2 separate regions of the Homo sapiens genome follow, and region 2 is linked to region 1. Evidence: promoter capture Hi-C in human tissues and cell types (Jung and others, 2019). All regions are on one chromosome and are shown on one strand. Each heading gives the region's core, a stretch centred on a gene start or on the middle of the fragment in contact. The rest is flanking DNA. Distances are from core to core; before and after follow the strand shown. Region 1 holds the start of CDKL3 (cyclin dependent kinase like 3). Region 2 has its middle 61 kb from the start of PPP2CA-DT.

Region 1 (3,065 bases), core at 427-2,926:
AGGCTGGTCTGGAACTCCTGGGCTCAAGTGATCTGCCCACCTTGGCCTCCCTGGGATTACAGGTGTGAGCCACTGTGCGCAGCCTCCTTGCAAATATTTAGCCCACAACAAATAATATGCTTACACCAAGTTTGAGCCCACTATAAGATTTACTATGACATTCTTATTTATAGAAGGTATTTTATATTGTGGTTGAATAACTTTCTTTTTTTTTTTTTTTTTTTTTTTGAGATGGAGTCTCGCTCTGCCACCCAGGCTGGAATGTAGTGGTGCGATCTCCGCTCACTGCAAGCTCCGCCTCCCGGATTCACGCCATTCTCCTGCCTCCGCCTCCCGAGTAGCTGGGACTACAGGCGCCCGCCACCACGCCCAGCTAATTTTTTCTATTTTTTAGTAGAAATGGGGTTTCACCGTGTTAGCCAGGATGGTCTCGATCTCCTGACCTCGTGATCCGCCCGCCTGGGCCTCCCAAAGTGCTGGGATTACAGGCGTTAGCCACTGCGCCCGTCTGAATAACCTTCAAAGAAAAGACAATTCTGAATATTTTAGGTGATCAATGAAAACGATGACCACTTCTCCTTTCTCTCAATATAAACCCTAGCAGCATAGAAAAAACTTGAGAAGCTTCAAAAATACTAATTTATTTACGCTATCCCAATTAAATCAGGTGCTCTGGCATTGGGGCAGGGGTGTGGAGGTGGGGGTTGGGATGCTTTCTAAAAGCTCTCCAGGTGTGATTTAAATATGCATGCTGGGTGGGACCCACCAGACTAGATTTATTAAATAATGCCTTTCCTCTTATTTAGCGGAAGCATAGCGAGATTTCGCTTTTTTACATTTAACTCATTTTATAGAAGAAAGCAAAGAAAGCCCTATTCAATAAAGAAAGCACTCCCTAGGCACTTGGTCTAGTGATATGGTGGTTATTCATTAGGGACTGTCATTCCAGTTGAACTCTATGTCTACTTAAGCAGTTAGACACTGGCCTCTTTATTTCCGTGCTCTTGTACATCATTTCGTATATGGTGGAACTCTTCGAATTACTTGCTTTCCTAGAGTTTGACATGTGGTGAGGGAGGTTTTTTTTCTTTAAAAAAGATTACTAGCAGTTGGAAAAAATTAAAAGGCATATGGCAAGTGTTCAAGAAAAGTTTTTGATTTAAGAACCATCTTGACCGGGGGCGGTGGCTTACGCCTGTAATCCCAGCACTTTGGGAGGCCGAGGCAGGCGGATCACCTGATGTTGGGAGTTCGAGACCAGCCTGGCCAACATGGTAGAAACCCCGTCTCTACTAAAAATACAAAATTATCCGGGCGTGGTGGCACACGCCTGTAATCCCAGCTACTCGGGAGGCTGAGGCAGGAAAATCACTTAAACCTGGAAGGAGGAGGTTGCAGTGAGCCAAGATCAGCGACACTGCAGTCCAGCCTGGGCGACAGAGCTAGACTATCTCAAAAAAAAAAAAAAAAAAAAAAAAGATGCAGATCCTTCCTATCCACATTCAAAAGCAACCTTGTGAGGAGGCTCAGCTGCGACAGCAATCTGTACTCCCCTCCCCCATTCCCAAGCACAGCACTCTTCCACCTTGCGCCTACCCAGAGTAGGTTTCCGTTTCTTCCCACTTCCCCTTCCGGGTCGGGACCCTGCCCATGTTCCGGTCTTGCGCACGAGTCTAGAACGCAGCAACTCCGCCGGCGTTTCCATGGTGGCAAGTGGCCGGTTCCTTGCGGGGCTGAGCAACAAAGTAGTATCAGTGTTCGGTGGCTCCACTGGAACTACGCAGAGCCAGACCAGCGGGACCACAGAATGGGCTGAGGCGGCGGCGGCTGTTTGGATAAAGTCAACAGCGGGACGTGGGGCGTGACGCCGGTCCGGCATCCTAAGACGTGTGGTTTGAGTTGCGGGCGAGACCAGGCTTTTTTTAGGACCTTGGGCCTGATAAGTGGGCGACTGCAGTAGTGCGGGAACCTATTATTTGACAGGAACATGACAGGAAGTGTAGGGACCCCATGCTTGATGGATGGTGACTTATAGTGTGGTAGTCTCAGTGTTGATGGGCATGACCGAGACAGCAGGAGTACCCCTAAGTTCTGGTGAGAGGTGGAGCCTCAGAAGGACACCTTACTCAAGCTGTCTTTAGTTCCCAAAGACAAAAAGGCTCAGTGGAAAAGATTCCTTTTTTTTTTTTAATGTCTCTATATTTGAGACTGTGGGTTTATTGTGGATATGCATTATCTAGTTTTAATAAATAAAAGTATAAACGTTTAACATTTTCCATTTTCTTTCTTTATTTCTATAAAGTAGTAAAAGCCCAGCTTGAAAATGGAGATGTATGAAACCCTTGGAAAAGTGGGAGAGGGAAGTTACGGAACAGTCATGAAATGTAAACATAAGAATACTGGGCAGATAGTGGCCATTAAGATATTTTATGAGAGACCAGAACAATCTGTCAACAAAATTGCGATGAGAGAAATAAAGTTTCTAAAGGTTTGCTTCTTTTGCCTTAATCATCTAAGTCAAAAGAAAAAATTGTTATGGAATAAAAAATTGCATAAAATATTTTAGTTCACACGTACTGATTCATATTATGGAGAAACAAGTGTAATACTCTATCTTATCTACATTTTGTAATTTTATAGTGATACAAGATATATGTGTTTTGGGGTATGTAACAAAAGCTACACCAATATTGTTTAATAATTATTCAGAAATATTCAAGTATAATACTTAATAAAAATTTCTGCTATGTGCAAGGCATGGTGCTAGGTACTGAGACTATAAGGAGGTAAAAGATAGTTCCTGCCCTTAAAGACTTCTATAATTTAATCAGAAAGGAGAGTATATGAAAATCATACTGAATAAAAAGTGGCTCATAATAAATGCCAAGGAATCAACACAAAGTCCTTTCCCTGGTAGGGAAAGTTTTTTTGAGGAAATGGGACATGAATTTGGCTTTGAAGGATGTGGAGGGTTTAGATAAGAGGGAGAAACTGTTGTGTTCTAGGTTAGAGGAACAACATAAACTCAAAAGAGACTAAAGAAGGACAAAGGATAAAGGGCAAAG
Region 2 (2,893 bases), core at 174-2,673, 80 kb after region 1:
CTAGAGATATTGTGAGGACTCAAGGTTTAACACACACAGGACACAGTGGGTTTGTAGTGATGAAATTTAGTAGTTCACTGGGTCTCTGTGTCTTCTTCAAGGATGAAGAATTATGGTCTTTAAGTTTTGTTATGCGAGTTATCTGAGTTTATCCTGACTTAATTCCCTTTGGGAATAAATTAGGTCTGAAAGTGTCCTCTACTCTTGTTGCATACTGCCTGTGAAACTCCTAGGGTATCTGTGCACTGGTCACCATTTATTTAGACATAAAGTTGGCATGAGTTATCTGTTCTGCAGGCATAAAGTGTTTCATTAAATACAAGAAAAAACATGGCATTTACAGTTTTAAAAGAGAGCTGTATAATGTGTCCGCTATTGTGGTTTGGAAGAAAATTAATCTCTGGAGACCCAGTTAGAGTTGTACCATGTCAAAAAAGAGATACTAGTACTGTAATTCTTTTCCACCCTGAGAAAAGCAAGTTTAGCTCAACACTTTCCAACTTTTATCATTTGGGGTTACATTGGATTTTCTCAGAGTTTTTGAGTGTTAGTGGAGTTTTAAAAGTAAAGTTACAGGCCAGGCTTGGTGGCTCATGCCTATAATCCCAGCACTTTGGGAGGCCAAGGCGGGCAGATCACCTGAGGTCAGGAGTTCGAGACCACCCTGACCAACATGGAGAAACCCCATCTGTACTAAAAATACAAAATTAGCTGGGTGTGGTGGCACATGTCTGTAATCCCAGCTACTCGGGAGGCTGAGGCAGGAGAATCACTTGAACCTGGGAGGCAGAGGTTGTGGTGAGCTGAGATTGCACCATTGCACTCTAGCCTGGGCAACAAGGGTGAAACGCCATTTCAAAAAAAAAAAAAAAAGTAAAGTTACAAACATAGCTGTGGTAAGGTGTCGAGAAGATGAGTTACTGGTTAATTTAGGCAGATCCAGGTTTTATGGAAGCTGATACTTTTAAATGAGGGCTCTTTTTGAGGAGGAAACACAAAATTTCAAAGGCAAAATTAGAAGGGCTGTTTCCATGGCTTTGGGTGCAGCCTGTGCAAGTGAGGGACTACATTGGCTTTCAATAAATATGCCTCTGCTGATAGGATTGCTCCTATTTGGTTCTCCATAGCCACCAAAACTCATGCAAACAAGTAGGTTATGGCAATGGCAGTGGCAGGGGCAGCTGAATTGGCAATCAATTGGCTAGGTCTTGAAATCTGTTGGGTAGCATCCATGTGATGATTGGGAGTCTTGGCTCTAAGTCCTTTGACCACGTGAAGTTGTCATAAGTGAAAGGGGATACAACTGGTTGCTCAGTGGGTTGCTGCTGTGTGGCACTCATTACCTTTCCTTTGGAAGAAGGAACACAGAATAGAGTCACAAGGATAGGGAACACTCTCTTGTGTTTAACACCCCTTGAAGAATAAAATTAAAATTCGATCCATTAAATAATTGAGTCAGGGTTCTGTTTTCACCAGAGTAATAAAAACTTGCTTTTGATGGGCACCAGTTATCACCTAATTGTCAAATTCAGTGACTTTTAAAAAATCCTTATTTTTCCTGATCTTTGTGTCACATTTCACACTATGAATCATCTTTTCCTCCTCAAAGCGCGCCTTCTTTTTTGTCACATGTCATCATTTTCTTCTTAATTCTAAGTGCTTTTCTGTTCTACTGATAATTTTTCTTCCTACCTGTTTCCCTGGCAGTTCTTAAGGCCTCCACTCTTCCCTGTTCCTTGAGAGAAGTATGTTACTCTTATAGCTTGGCTACCACCTCTGAGGGTATTTCTCCAAAATTTGTAGTTCTTCCACAGACATTTACCTGAAGCTACAGTCTCTATATGTTTGCTAAATGTTTCCACTTTATCATTTTGCTGTTTCTTCAGCCTTACTGATAGGGTTTGGCTGTGTCCCCACACAAATCTCATCTTGAATTCCCACGTGTTGTAGGAGGGACCTGGTGGGAGGTAATTGAATCATGGGGGCAGGTCTTTCCTGTGCTGTTCTCATAATAGTAAGTCTCATGAGATCTGATGGTTATTACAAGGGGGAGTTTTCCTGCACAAGCTCCCTCTCTTTTTGCATGCTGCCATCCATGTAAGACATGACTTGCTGTTCCTTGCCTTCCACCATGATTGTGAAGCCTCCCCAGCCATGTGGAACTGTAAGTCTAATAAACCTCTTTCTTTTGTAAATTGTCCCGTCTCAGGTACGTCTTTATCAGCGGCATGAAGACAGACCAATACAGTGAATTGGTACCAGTAGAGTGGGGCATTGCTGAAAAGATACCCAAAAATGTGGAAGCAACTTTGGAACTGGGTAACAGGCAGAGGTTTGAACAGTTTGGAGAGCTCAGAAGAAGACAGGAAAATGTGGGAAAGTTTGGAACTTTCTAGAGACTTGTTGAATGGCTTTGACCAGAAGCTTGATCATGATATGGACAATAAAATCCAAGCTGAGGTGGTCTCAGATAGAGATGAGGAACTTGTTGGGAACTGGAGCAAAGGTGACTCTTGTTATGTTTTAGCAAAGAGATTGGCAGCATTTTGCCCCTGCACTAGAGATTGTGGAACTTTGAACTTGAGAGAGGTGATTTAGGGTAACTGGTGGAAGAAATTTCTTTTTGTTGTTGTTGTTTTTTTTCTTTTTTGAGACAGTCTCACTCTATAACCAGTCTGGAGTGCAGTGGCATGATCTTGGCTCACTGCAACCTGTGCCTACTGGGTTCAAGTGATTCTCCTGCCTCAGCCTCCTGAGTAACTGGGACTATAGGCATGTGCCACCACACCCACCTAATTTTTGTATTTTTAGTGGAGACGGGGTTTCACCATGTTGGCCAGGATGGTCTCAATCTCTTGACCTCGTGATCCACATGCCTTGGCCTCCCAAAGTG

What was found. The method cuts DNA at HindIII sites, captures the fragments that hold promoters and counts their contacts. A contact is called where the count stands out against the background at its distance.
Region 2: a fragment that was not itself captured here is called in contact with the fragment with the promoter of CDKL3 in region 1 in 2 of the 25 tissues and cell types used here (mesendoderm cells and thymus).

The regions. Positions count from the first base shown.
Region 1 is chr5:134,365,782-134,368,846 of GRCh38, reverse strand. CDKL3 (cyclin dependent kinase like 3) reads left to right here and starts at 1,676. Exons shown (of 13, transcript NM_001113575.2): 1 at 1,676-1,870; 2 at 2,303-2,488. The coding sequence starts at 2,324. The HindIII fragment of the contact is 10,082 bases long and covers 1-3,065 here.
Region 2 is chr5:134,285,876-134,288,768 of GRCh38, reverse strand. It overlaps a transcript of CDKL3 not described here. Among named protein-coding and RNA genes, the nearest start is that of PPP2CA-DT, 61 kb to the right of the region's middle. The HindIII fragment of the contact is 7,286 bases long and covers 1-2,893 here.